Linked DNA regions of Homo sapiens: all the other regions are linked to region 1. The links are contacts of gene promoters, found by promoter capture Hi-C in blood cells and fetal thymus (Javierre and others, 2016). All regions are on one chromosome and are shown on one strand. The core of a region is centred on a gene start or on the middle of the fragment in contact, and the rest is flanking DNA. Distances in the headings are between cores, read along the strand shown.

Region 1 (3,492 bases), core at 288-2,787:
TTTCATCATATTGGCTAGGCTGGTCTCAAACTCCTGACCTCGTGATCTGCCCACCTCGGCCTCCCAAAGTGCTGGGATTACAGGCGTGAGTCACCACGCCTGGCCTAGCTAGGGCTGATATTTAACAATCAGGAAAAAGAGCCCCTGAGACCTTTACAAATGCAAAATTTGCAAAATCCCTCAAAGCATAACCTTCATAAAAGGCAGTAAGTAGAACTGCAGCTGGGTGGATGGGCATGTCATTCACTGACCTGACGCCCACAGAAAGAACTGCAAGTGTGATGGAAGAAAATGATGCATTAATTTTGGGGTTAACATAGTTTCAGTGCTAACGCCTGAGATTCTCTAATAAACAGAAAAATACTGACGGGGCTGAGGTTGGTGGCTCATGCCTGTAATCCCAGCACTTTGGGAGGCTGAGGCAGGAGGATCGCTTGAGCCCAGGAACTCAAGACCAGCCTATGCAACATAGCAAGACCCCCATCTCTACCAAAAAAAATTTAAAAATCAGCAGAATGTGCTGGTGTGTGCTTGTAGTCCTAGCTACTCAGGAGCCCTGATGGCACCACTGCACTCCAACCTGGACAACAGAGCGAGACCCTGTCTCAAAGAGAAAAAAAAAGAAACATGTGATGGCCAGGCACTGTGCTAGGTACTAGGAATACACAGGTGAACACAAGATGATCCCAATCTCATAGGACTTGCAAGTTTATCAAATAATCAACAAATAATTACAGACATTTGTAGGTTATGTAAGAAACTTTAAGATACCAGGATGGCTTTCGATAAAATACCATTGAGGCTACATGTCCATTGCACGTCCATATCCTTAGTACTTTCCTGAGAAGATTCCCTAGAAGTGCGATTTCTGGGTCTAAAGATCTGCTTGTTTTTTGTTTGTTTGTTTTTTTGAGATGGAGTTTCCCTCTTGTCACCCAGGCTGGAGTGCAATGGTACAATCTCCAGTCACTACAACCTCCGCCTCCTGAATTCAAGCGATTCTCCAGCCTCAGCCTCCCCAGTACCTGGGATTACAGGCACCCGCCACCACGCCCGGCTGATTTTTGTATTTTTTAGTAGAGACGGGGTTTCACCATGTTGGCCGGGTTGGTTTCAAACTCCTGAACTCAGGTGATCCGCCCGCCTTAGCGTCCCAGTGTTGGGATTACAGGCGTGAGCCACCGCGCCCGGCCTGTTTTTAATTAATTTTTTAACAACAGACTTTTATTTTTTAGGGCATTTTTAGGTTCACAACAAAATTGAGCAGAAAGTACAGTTTTCATATTACCCCTGCGCCCACCCACCTCCAGCAAGCAGCAATCTGTTCGCTTTCAAGTTTTATTTATTTATTTATTTATTGCATTTTGTTTTAAATAGAGTCTGGGGAAATGGGAGAAAACGCTGAAAACGCACAAGCACTTTGGTTGGTTAAATTAGGGTTCCGCCAAGAGCCGGAGCGGTGTGCCAAGTGAAAACTACATTTCCCACGGGGCAGCGGGTCACGTCACAGAGGAACGACTACGCATGCGTGCAAGGTCCTCCGCGCGCGACTACGCTCATAAAAGGAAAAAAAAGCGTGTGCGGTTCTCGACGTGCCGCCAATCTTCGAACGCAGGTCTGTGATCATCCGCAGACTCCGAAAAAGGGTTCGAGGAACGCGCCTGCTCCCCTCGTCGCAGTTTCCAGCCCGACGAGCTTGTTTTGTCCCGGACTCGGTAGGTGGCGACGGGCCGTGGCCTGAGACCTCCGGCGAAACGCGGGAGCGAAGGGCTGAGTCCTCCCTCCGCGCCGCGGCTCCCGACCTCCCTGAGGCGGCGCTCTAGGGGCGGTGCGCACGCGCTCTGGGCGGGAGGGGGGCGGGGCTCGTGGGGGTGGGGGCGGGAGAGGAGGGCGGGGCCGGGGCTCGGGGAGGGCGGGCCCTGCGCCCGGCCGCTCGAGGTCTGCGCTTGCGTGCTTCCATCCCCGGCGAGGGTGGGAAACAGCGACACGCTGGGCTCGGCACGGACGCAGCTTCCAGGTGGGGTACTCGGACCCGGGTCACGAAGATGCGGACAGAGGATGGGCCCCGAACTCCAGCACTTATTTTATGATTTGCACAAAAATTTTGTATATATATATAGTTCTTAACAAGATACACTAACAGCTCGTCGTTTGCCCAGGAGGCTCAACCTCCCGCCTCGGCCTCCCAAAGTGTGGGGAGTATAGGCGTGAGCCCCCGCGCCCGGCCAAAAAATGCCCGTCTTAAGAACAACAAAACAGCCTCCTTCACCCTCGCTATCCTCCAGTTACCTCCTCCTCGGCTCCGGTTTGCAGCCAAAGGCCTTAGTCTACCCTCACTAATGCCTTTTCTCCTCCAAGTCTTGAACCCTTGAGCCTCTAGTCAGGCTTTGGTCTCCACCACTCCACTAAAAAGGCTTCTTGTCAAAGCCACCAGTGATCTCTAGGTGGCCAAATGCATTGTTAAGTTAGGTCTCAGTCCTGTTCAGCATTTGATGCTGTGGATCACTGCCCCTCCTTGAAACACTGTTTTCATTTGGCTTGCTGAACGTTCTCTTCCTTTGCCTCTGCTCTCTCTGGCTTCTCCTCTGCTGATTCTAACCTAGGCATCATCTCACATTTTTGTTTTTATTAGAGACACGTTCTCTGTTGCTCAGACTGGAGAACAGTGGTGTTATTACAGCTCACTGCAGCCTCAAACTCTTGGGCTTAAGCAGTCCTCCTAACCAAAGCCTCCCCAAATGCTGGAATTACAGGCATGAGCCACCGCAATCCCAGTTTCACATTTTAAATGTAAATACTGGCCAGGCGCGGTGGCTCATGCGTGTAATCCTAGCACTTTGGGAGGCCGAGGTGGGCAGACTGCCTGAGCTCAGGGGTTTGAGACCAGCCCGAGCAACGTGGTGAAATCCAGTCTCTTCTAAAAAAAAAAAAAAAAATTAAAAAATTAGCCGGGCGTGGTGGTGCACGCCTGTAATCCCAGCTACTTGGGAGGCTGAGGCACAATAATCACTTAAACCCAGGAGGTGGATGCTGCAGTGAGCCAAGATCGTGCCACTGCACTCTAGCCTGGGTGACAGAGCAAGACCCTGTCTCAAAAAAGAGTTCTAGAGGTGGAAGAAAATCCACATATAAGTGGACCTGCACAATTAAAACCTGCATTGTTTGAGGGTCAACTGTATAGCTATTTTAAAAGAGATTTATTGTGATGGATTGGGTGACACTATTATAGAGGCTGAGAAGTCCCGAGATTTGCCATCTGCAAGCTGGAAGCCCAGGAAAGCAAACCCTCAGGAAACTCACAGACACACTCTAAAGTGTTTCACCAGCTATCTGGGAATCCCCTAGCCCAATCAGTTTGACACATAAAGTTAACCATCACATTTCCCTAGCTTTGTTTTTCAGTTGCCTCAATCATCATTTTACTGGTGATACTTTGAGTGTTGTCATAATAGCCTAATGGTGGGTTGGCAGCTTCCACTTTTGTGATCTCTT
Region 2 (3,106 bases), core at 312-2,811, 420 kb before region 1:
ATGGATGAGAGAGCTCGTTTTAAAGCAGGAAATAAGCATTTTTCTGGCCTGGGAGGTTTTGCCACTGGAGTACAAGCCAAGGATCAGTGCTGAGGATGAGATTTATAAATGATCCGGACGAGCCGAGTTCTGTGAAATTGCCAGTAAACAGGCTTTAGTGAAAGCAAGTATGCGGTATTTCCTATAGGAAAAAATAAATCACATTATCCTTCTAGGGAGAAGAGCTCAGAATTATCAGCTATGTCCCAGAAATAGAGTTTCAGATTCACTAGACTTTCACCTAAAGACAGACACAACAGAATGTAAAAACACCAGCTTTTACAAAAGTAAACAGGACACTGAAGGGTCAGTGTGGGGGAGGAAAGAACACCTGCTTGATTTTTTTAATAGATCAAGAACAGTGTCTTCAGGGTCCTGAGTACATTCTAATTTGAATAGTGGTCCTGAAGGAAAGACCACCTGGGCACGATTATTCCCAAAAATGGCTTCTGGAAACATCTGTAGCACTTCTACACAGCCAAATGATTTTCATTAGTGGTGACAGCACATTTTATAAGCATGTTTGTTTTGAAAGTGTCTTTTTAAAGTTTTGTCTTTTTAAATTTCTTACCCTATCTACAAAGTCAGGGCCTACATTCGGGGCATGCCAAGGCCCATCAGCCTCCTGGGGCCCACTAGATTATTTAGAAGCTTATATAGTCATGGAAACCAGCCGTCACAGACCACCAAGGACAGCCTCGGAAAAAGGCTCCTGTGGAGGCTCTGCCATGAATCACAAGCTCATCCAGGAGATGGGCTGCACACTGGGCGGCTCTGTGCTGGGCTGAAACAACAGTTACCCAACACAGGGGCTGCGCACCAGAGCCGGGACAGATCCCATAAGAAGCATGCTGGGAAGAAGGAAGGGCAGTGAGAGTGGTGCATAGCAGCTGATGGGGCAGGGAGGACACATGTGGCTTTCAGTTACTGGTGTTTTCAGTTGACAAAAATGAATGTCAGATGTTAGCTATTTCAACATTTTGTCATTCCCTATTATACCATCATGCGACTTGTACCAACAAAGCCATGGGACCCTGGGTAAATTAACATCTCTGAACATCAATTTCCTCTTATGTAAAACAGGGGTAACTAGTAATAGCACTTACACCTCACAGGACGATGGAGAGAATTAAGTAATATAAGTCAATAACACAGTGCCTGGCATGTAATGAGAGCTACAAATGGAAGCTATTACTATTATTGTTATCAACAAAATAACAAAGCAAACTAACCCTAAACCCCAAGCAGGCAGGGCCTGTAAACAGCAGCCAAAAGCCTTTTCAACCAGCTCTGGTCAGAGCCCCTGGGGCCATTTGCAACAGGTGCAGGGGGCAGGGGGACCACAGGCCATCAGCTGCACTATGGCCTTCCAATTCTAAAGTGAGCAGGAAGCAAGAAAGCACAAGGCCATGTTCTCCCTAGTACACCTGCTGGTTGAAAGGACATAAGGAAACTAATTAGAGGCTTTTTAGTAAGTCCTGTCTCTTTACTCCAAATCAGTTTCTTTTCCAAACACCTCCTTGGAATACACTGTCATGACCTCATCTTTTACCTCCCCCACAGCTTTTCATCATAAGCCTTTAAAAACGTTCCCTGTTTCGAAGTGGGGAGAGATGCCAGTGGGGAGGCTGCAGTGAAGAAATCATGTTCCGACAGCAACGGCAGCAGTAATGAAATATCAGTCCGATGGTTTTTTGAATGTTTGGTTAAATTAGAAAATAAAAACCAGTTTACCTGACCCTGAAGTGACTATAAACTGTTGTAATCCCAAATAAACTTCTAAATTGTCCTGAAGAACAGGGAACTGAAAACAAAGAAACAAAAACAACAAAAATTTTAAGCCATAAATGCAAGTTTTAATAGCATTTTAACATTACAACATTAACACGTAACTATGGTGTGAGGAACAGGATCAAAACCTTTTCTCTGGGAACCTTTAAATGCAGCTAAAAAGCTATGACCCCCCTTCAGTGCCCCCCAACTAGTTTCTATAATTGAAACCGCCAATTAATACACAGAATAAGAAAGAAAACGTATTAGTTCAACCCTTTTTTTAAAAAAAAAAAAAAAGCAAAGGACACTGTGGTATGACTCTTACGTTCCTAATAGAGGAGATCAAACCCTGAAATGACCTACACCTTCTAGAACTCTGAGAAGGGACCATATCTCCCTTCAAATCCAAGGGAACCTCTACCTTGAGAGAAATGTCAGCTATGCCTTATTAAGCACATGGTAAAGTGATAAGATTGGCCAAATTATTTGGAAGTCAGTTCCCTGGCTCAAGTAGCGGTCAGAACGTCATAACCGGAGCTGCATCTTTCTTTCTCAAGCTGCTACACTCACCAGTAAGATTAAAACGTGACTGGCCCCTAAGAAAGGCAGATGGCAAAGTACGAAGCTTTCCAGGAGAGAACACAAGTATAGCTGGGTCATTCAATGCAAAAGATGACCCTATGGCCAGGGGCGGTGGCTCACGCCTGTAAATCCCAGCACTCTGGGAGGCAGAGGCGGGCAGACGACGAGGTCAGGAGATCGAGACCATCCTGGCTAACACGGTGAAACCCCGTCTCCACTAAAAATACAAAAAGTTAGCTGGGTGTGGTGGTGAGCTCCTGTAGTCCCACTTACTCGGGAGGCTGAGGCAGGAGAATTGCTTGAACCCAGTAGGTGGAGGTTGCAGTGAGCCAAGATCACGCCACTGCACACTCCGGCCTGGGAGACAGCGTGAGACTCCGTCTCAAAAAAAAAAAAATTACCCTAATAACTGCCTTGCCTTGAAGAAGTGATGAATTTAATGAAATCTCTTTGAATAACACGCACCACACAGGGAAGGGAATCAATCCTTACAACTAAAGATTCCAGCACGTATAGACACACGCAGAGAAAGCTAGCAATTTGCCAAGAGCGAGCTTTACAAAGGCCAGCTTTTCAGCAATGTAACTTCTATAAGTAACAGCTCCCACTCGGCCTGGCCACTTGCAAGCTACTGATAAAGGTATTAAGGCTTTAGTCAAATTGCTATTATATCCAAGACTAAACAAGGTTCCAAAAGTTGGTTTAATATTTT
Region 3 (3,561 bases), core at 1,024-3,523, 370 kb after region 1:
CCTTGGGCAAGTTATTTAACCTCTCCGGGCCTCAGAGCTTCCTCTGTAAAATGGAGATGGGTAATAGTTCCTGCCTCACAGAGTTTGTTATGAAGATTAGTTACTCATAAAGCATTTAGCTCAGTGCCTGGCACATAGTGAGTGCTCAAAACATGCTACCTGGCCAGGCGCGGTGGCTCACACCTGTAATCCCAGCACTTTGGGAGGCCAAGGCAGGCAGATCGTTTGAGCTCAGGAGTTCAAGACCTGTCTGGGTAACATAGAGAGACCCTGTTTCTACAAAAAAATACTAAAAATTAGCCAGGCATGGTGGCATGCACCTGTAGTCTTGGCTACTTGGGAGGCTGAGGTAGGAGGATCTGCTTGAGCCCAGGAGGTGGAGGTTGCAGTGAGCTGAGATCACACCAGCGTGCTGTGACGCACTCCAGCTTGGGCGACAGAGTGAAACTCTTATTGACTCAAGAAAAAAAAAAAAAGCTAGCTATTGTTATTATTTAGGACACACCTGGCTTTTCTTATATAGTAGATATAACAAGTTTCCCTTAATAAATGTATGTAAACTTTTAAAATGTGGATCTATTTAAAGAACAAATATTAAGTAAACAGCACAGTAAGTTGTACAAGGATGTGTCTACATTGCACAGGCAGGTGGATCCTGAAATGTGGGAAATACAGCCCCAGAGAAGTCTCCAGCCACCAGCAGCTGTTAGAAAGGGAAATCGCATGTTGGGAAGGGAATTTTAGGAAGTTTACTCTGGAAGCCAATGTCAAGGCCACACTATAGAGGAAGATCTGTGAGAAGGTTGGGACAAAAGTCCAGGAGAGAGTTGACGAGAGCCCCACCGCAGCAGGGGCATAGCAGCGGGGGCAGCTCTGACATCTGTTTCAGAGTCTCTGGCTTCTGCTAGAGGAAGGAGAGTAGAAAACAGGATCAGCAGCTGGGGCGTCTGGGGCCAGAGGACCAAGTACAAAGAACGTGGGGCGGAGGTGGGGAAGCTGGTGCATGGCGTGGGGTGGAGGGGGGAGTGTCTGGGGAAGGCTAGAGAGCAGAGCATTAGACTCACAGAGACTGGGCCAGGGCTGATTCTATTTCCCAGAAGTCCAGACTAAAATGAGGTTGGTTTGGGGAACTGAGAAGTTTCTCGCCCATCTTCAGGGTTGATCAATCATCAGTGAGGGACAAGAAATGACATGGGACAAGGCAACAGATAGAAGCTGGGAGCTAAACTTAGCTATAACTGACAGAGCTGCTGCTATCACATGGAGGGCCTCTATGCAAATTTTAAAAGGGCGGCCCTTCCTCTGGGCCATAGGCATGCCCTGTGCCAGGCAGCCCTGCTAACCTATCCCATAGCTTATCTGTGCCCCCAATCCCTTTCTCGTCATGCACTCCCCAGTATGGGGTTGATGGGGAGTCTAGGTGAGTCCCGCGTCTCACCTTTCAGGATGGCCTGCAGCGAGGCCACCTCCTCTTGGCACTGCCGCTGCACCGCAGCCACAGCCTCGGCCTTCGTGCTCTCGCTCACCTCTGCCACAGCCTTCATGGTTTCCATTTCTGCCAGGGCGCCTGCCAGCTCAGCCCGAAGCCGGCTGAGCTCACCTGACTCGGCCTCACCATTTGCCCCTTCCTGGGACCGGGAGTCCTCCAGTGCTGTGGGGGACAGGGATCAGCCTCTCTTCCCATCTCTTACCCCAGGCCACCTACCGGCTTAGCAAGTCCTGCAACCTAGTACTGTTGCCTTCATCTGGGGCCTCCTTCACCTGGGCCCGCCCGGCTCACCTGGCCCCGCCCCTGCCCCGCCCCCTTCCCACTCGCTCTGCCGGGTGCTGCCTACACTCCATCTCTTCGCGGTGGCCAGTTTCACTCAGTCCTCTCTTCGGTCCCACCTGGCCCCGCCCTCCTAGTGGCCGCGCCCCTTCCTCACCGGGCCCCACTTCGCACCTGTCACTGGCCCTACCCCTTCAATGGCCGGGCCACGCCCCCTTTTGCCTGTGGCTGTAGGCCCCGCCCCCTTTCCCGACGGCGTGGCCCCGCCCCTTCCTCCATCATCCCTCTCCACCCCCCATCCGCAGGTGGCTGGCTCGGCCCCGCCCCCAGCATCACCGTTCCCCGCTTGCACGGACGCCCCCTCACGTACCAGCCCCCGGCCGCCGCCGCCGCTCATCGTCGTCCGCGGCCACCGGCGCAGCTGCCGCCATTGCCTCAGCGCAAACGGCGGATTCCCGCACTCCCTGGTGACGGAGCGCACCGCTTCCGGGTCCTCTCGGCTGTTTCCGGATCCGCTCGGCTGTTTCCGGATCGGCCCCGGGCTGGAGGCCCCGGACGGAGGATGGGGGGATTGCCGAGCCTCGGCCGAAGATTCCCGAGTCGGCCCCCGGCCCCGGCCCCGGCCCCGCCCCGGCTCTTCTTGGCTGGGTCGCGCGGTTCGGGAGGACGCCTGCCTTTCAAGCCCGGAAGAGGATCCTTAAGAGGTCTTGCCCGGCGTCTCTCCGTGACCTTGGAAGCCCTGCTCCAATTATGCCTCCTCCGGGACACCGGCCTGCGGAGAGCTCCCCCTCGCTCCCTCGCTGCCCCTGCCCGGAGCCAGCCTTTGATCGGCTCCGGCCGCCCTTCCGCCCGAGCCTGGCTTGCGTTACCGCGAATTGTGGCGGGGCCCTCCCTGCACCTCCGCCCTCTTGGAGCGTCCCTCGGGGCAGGGCCGGGTCGGCTTCATTTTTCTGAGCGCCTCGGAGTCCCCGCGTAGTTAGTCGGAGTCTGAAACTTGCACGTCCCCACCCCCATTTTGTTACTCAGCCAGTCACCGCTTCCTGCTGGCCCCCCTTTCCTCCTCCCAACGCCCTCAAATCCCTCCTCTCCTCTCCGCCTGTGTCTAGATCAGGCTCTTTATCTGTGACCTCCACCCGGACGGTGACAGGCAATTCAGATTTATGTCCAGAGCCTTGGTTCCCCTTCCCTCAAACCTTTTTTCCCTCTGTAAAGGACACGCCAGGAACCTGGAAGTCCTTGATTCTACGTGTCCTCCTGCAAGTCCCGTAAACTCTACTTCCAATGTGCTGACTATTCCAGAATGTGCCCCTTTTTCTCCATCTCCAGCGCTAACACTCCGTCCCAGCTCCCATCACTTCTCCTGAACTTCCGCAGTGTCGACTCCACCCTTTAATTAATTAATTCTCCGTAAAGCAGCTGGAGCGATTTTTGTAAAACAGATAATGCAGTTTGAAAATGGCCAAAGGTAGAACGCTTTTACACTGTTGGTGGGAATGTAAATTAGTTCAACCATTGTGGAAGACAGTGTGGTGATTCCTCAAAGACCTAGAACCAGAAATACCATTTGACCCAGAAATCCCATTACTGGGTATATACCTAAAGGAATATAAATCATTCTATTACAAAGATACATGCACGAGTATGTTCATTGAAGCACTATTCAAAATAGCAAAGACATGGACTCAACCCAAATGCCCATCAATGATAGACTGGATAAAGAAAATGTGGTACATATACACCATGGAATACTATACAGCCATAAAAAGGAACGAGATCATGTCCTTTGCAGGGAC
Region 4 (3,282 bases), core at 755-3,254, 390 kb after region 1:
GCCTCCCACCAAGTGCCCTGGAATCAGACTAGCTGTTTTTTGTTTGTTTGTTTGTTTGTTTTGATGGAGTCTGGTTCTGTCACCCAGGTTGGAGTGCAGTGGTGCAATCTTGGCTCACTGCAACCTCCACTTCCCAGGTTCAAGCAATTCTCCTGCCTCAGCCTCTTGAGTAGCTGGGACTACAGGCACACACCACCAAGCCCAGCTGCCCAGCTAGATTTTTTTTGTTTGTTTGTATTTTTAGTAGAGACAGGGTTTCATCATGTTGGCCAGGCTGGTCTTGAACACCTGACCTCAGATGATCCGCCTGCCTCAGCCTCCTAAAGTGGTGGGTTTACAGGCATAAGCCACTGTGCCTGGCCCAGACTAGCTGGGTTTATGTGAATCCTGGCTCCACCCCTTTCCAGCTACATGGCTTAAGCTCTCTGAACTGCAATTTCCTGGTCTGTAAAATAGACCATGAAATAGTAATTCAGAAAATGAGGACATTATCAATGAGTCTTAAATGACACGTAAAGCATACAACAGTGGCTTAGCAAGGACTCAAGCATGAGCTCTTATTATTTGACATCTTATTTATTTATTTATTTATTTATTTATTTATTTTGAGACAGGGTCTCACTAGGCTAGGCTAGGCCAGGTTAGAGGGTAATGGCACAATCATAGCCCACCGTAACTTTGAACTCCTGGATTTGAGTAGTTCTCTCACCTCAGCCTCCCTAGTAGCTGGGACTATAGGCGTGCACCACCACACCCGGCTGGCTAACTTCTGTATTTTTTGGTAGAGAAGGGGTTTTGCCATGTTGCCCAGGCTAGACTTGAGCTCCTGGCCTCAAGTGATCCTCCCACCTCGGCCTCCCAAAGGGCTAGGATTACAGTCGTGAGCCACTGCGCCTGGCCAAAAAATAATTTTTTTTTTTTTTAAGAGATGAGGTCTTGGCTGGGCACGGTGGCTCACACTTGTAATCTCAGCACTTTTGGAGGCTGAGGCGGGTGGATCACTAGGTCAAGAGATTGAGACCATCCTGGCCAACATGGTGAAACCCCGCCTCTACTAGAAATACAAAAATTAGCCGGGCCTGGTGGCACACGCCTGTAGTCCCAGCTACTTGAGAGGCTGAGCAGGAGAATCGCTTGAACCCAGGAGGCGGATGTTGCAGTGAGCCGAGATCACGCCACTGCACTCCAGCCTGGCAACAGAGCGAGACTCCGTCTCAAACAAAAACAAAAACAAAAAACAGAGATGAGGTCTCGCTATGTGTGCCCAGGCTAGCCTTGAGCTCCTGGACTCAAGCAATCTTCCCATCTCAAGCATTCCTAGTAGCTGGGACTTACAGGTGCACTTTCAGCTCTTGAGCAAGGTTTGGGGAAAGGAGACTTGAAAATTTTAGACTCTCAGGGCCACCTCCTGCTTGCGGTTTGCAGTGGTTTCCCGGGAGCGCCCAAGACTGGCCTGCCGCCTGGCTACAGAGAGAGGCTGAAGGCCTCCTGGGGCTGGGAAGTCGGTGGAGTCCAGGAGCCTCCGTTTCCTGGAAAACAGCTCCACCTGCTGGCTGTTGTGCGCCTGCAGTCCTGACCTTGGCGGAGTCTGCACGGGGAAGGGAAATGCATGCTGGTCCAGCGGGGGGCGCCTGCAGGGGACATCGGTGCCGCGGTTGGGATGGAGGCGTATGGGATGAGACTAGGGCAGAGGTGGACATGCCGTTCTGCGTGGATGTATGAGGCGCGAGTTTTGTGAGCACCGTGGGTGTGAGCAGCATGTGGTATTGGGTGTGTGCGGTGTGGGTATCCTGAGCGACGTGTGGCGTGGGACGTAAGTGTGAGGCGGCAGGTGGTTATACGGTTGGAGGCAAAGTGGGAAGAGTGAAGTGTTGAAGGGGCGTGTTTGTGTTGTGTTGGGATATATGTTGTGCAGGAGTTGCCAACGCTGTGGATGTGTGGAGGGCGTGTAGTCTCTGAGGTGCACAATATTGTTGGTAGGAGGTGTTGGCGAGTGTGTTTGGGAAATATAATTAAGAAACAAAATATCTAAACCCAACAAACTTCTCCACAAAGGTAGTAGAGACAGAAAACAGTTTTATTATTATTTTTGGTTAAAAAGTTGTAAAATGGGCCTGGCGTGATGGCTCACGCCTGTAATCCCAGCACTTTGGGTGGCTGAGGCGGGCGGCTCACCTGAGGTTGGGAGTTCGAGACCAGCCTGACCAACATGGTGAAACTCCATCTCTACTAAAAGTACAAAAAATTAGCCAGGCGTGGTGGCGCATGTCTGTAATCCCAGCTACTCAGGAGGCTGAGGCAGGAGAATCGCTTGAACCCGGGAGGTGGAGGTTGCAGTGATCCAAGATTGTGCCACTGCACTCCAGCCTGGGCAACAAGAGTGGAACTCCATCTCAAAAAAAAAAAAGTTTTAAAATGTATTATTATTTTTCGTAGAGTTGGGGGTTTTACTATATTGCCTAGGCGGGTCTTAACGCTCAGCCTGAAGTGATCCTCCCACCTTGGCCTCCCAAAGTGCTGGGATTACAGACGTGAACCACTGTGCCTGGCCTTAAATTGTATGTATTTATTTATTTTTAGAGAGAGGGTCTTGCTCTGTTGCCCAGGCTCGAGTGAAGTGGTGAGATCATAGCTCACTGCAGCCTTGAACTCCTGGGCTCAATCAGCCTCCCAAGTAGCTAGGACTACAGGTGTGCATCACGACACCCACTAATTATTATTACTTTTTGTAGAGACAGGGTCTTGCTATATTGCCCAGGCTGGCCTTGAACCCTAGACCTCAAGTGATCCTCCCACCTCAGGCTCCCAGTGCTGGGATTACAGGCATAAGCCAACATGCCCGGGCTGGTTTTATTATTGAATAAGCATAATTTTTCTTTCTTTTTTGACATGGAGTTTCACTCTTGTTGCCCATGCTGGAGTGCAATGGCACAATCTCAGCTCACTGGAACCTCTGCCTCCCGGGTTCAAGTGATCCTCCTGCCTCAGGCTCCGGAGTAGTTGGGATTACAGGTGCCCACCACAATGCCTGGCTAATTTTTTGTATTTTTAGTAGAAAAATACACCACCATATTGGCCAGGCTGGTCTCGAACTCCTGACCTCAGGTGATCCAACCACCTCAGCCTCCCAAAGTACTGGGATTAGAGGCGTGAGCCACTGCACCCGGCTTGAATAAGCATTAAGTTAGAATGTGATGCACATCACTGGCAATCTGGTAAAAGATTGCAAAGGCAAAAAGAAATATCCTTCATTACAGCCAAGCAGGTGTAAACCATTATCCT

The links. The method cuts DNA at HindIII sites, captures the fragments that hold promoters and counts their contacts. A CHiCAGO score of 5 or more calls a contact.
Region 2: a contact is called between a fragment that was not itself captured here and the fragment with the promoter of SGF29 in region 1, in 1 of 17 cell types (total CD8 T cells). The highest score is 5.3, in total CD8 T cells.
Region 3: the fragment with the promoter of RABEP2 here is called in contact with the fragment with the promoter of SGF29 in region 1 in 1 of 17 cell types (erythroblasts); the score reaches 5.6 in erythroblasts.
Region 4: a contact is called between a fragment that was not itself captured here and the fragment with the promoter of SGF29 in region 1, in 1 of 17 cell types (total CD8 T cells). The highest score is 5.3, in total CD8 T cells.

The regions. Positions count from the first base shown.
Region 1 is chr16:28,552,383-28,555,874 of GRCh38, forward strand. It overlaps SGF29 (SAGA complex associated factor 29), which reads left to right and starts at 1,538. Exons shown (of 10, transcript NM_138414.3): 1 at 1,538-1,715. RefSeq lists an enhancer at 1,507-1,826 and a silencer at 1,847-1,966. The HindIII fragment of the contact is 18,994 bases long and covers 1-3,492 here.
Region 2 is chr16:28,130,561-28,133,666 of GRCh38, forward strand. XPO6 (exportin 6) reads right to left here. Exons shown (of 24, transcript NM_015171.4): 12 at 1,774-1,843. Among named protein-coding and RNA genes, the nearest start is that of GSG1L, 68 kb to the left of the region's middle. The HindIII fragment of the contact is 1,747 bases long and covers 689-2,435 here.
Region 3 is chr16:28,922,965-28,926,525 of GRCh38, forward strand. It overlaps RABEP2 (rabaptin, RAB GTPase binding effector protein 2), which reads right to left and starts at 2,274. Exons shown (of 13, transcript NM_024816.3): 1 at 2,139-2,274; 2 at 1,439-1,651. The coding sequence starts at 2,199. RefSeq lists enhancers at 1,406-1,495, 1,526-1,755, 2,734-3,317 and silencers at 1,916-2,135, 2,166-2,515. The HindIII fragment of the contact is 8,433 bases long and covers 1-3,561 here.
Region 4 is chr16:28,944,183-28,947,464 of GRCh38, forward strand. No RefSeq gene overlaps it. Among named protein-coding and RNA genes, the nearest start is that of NFATC2IP, 5.1 kb to the right of the region's middle. The HindIII fragment of the contact is 5,380 bases long and covers 1-3,282 here.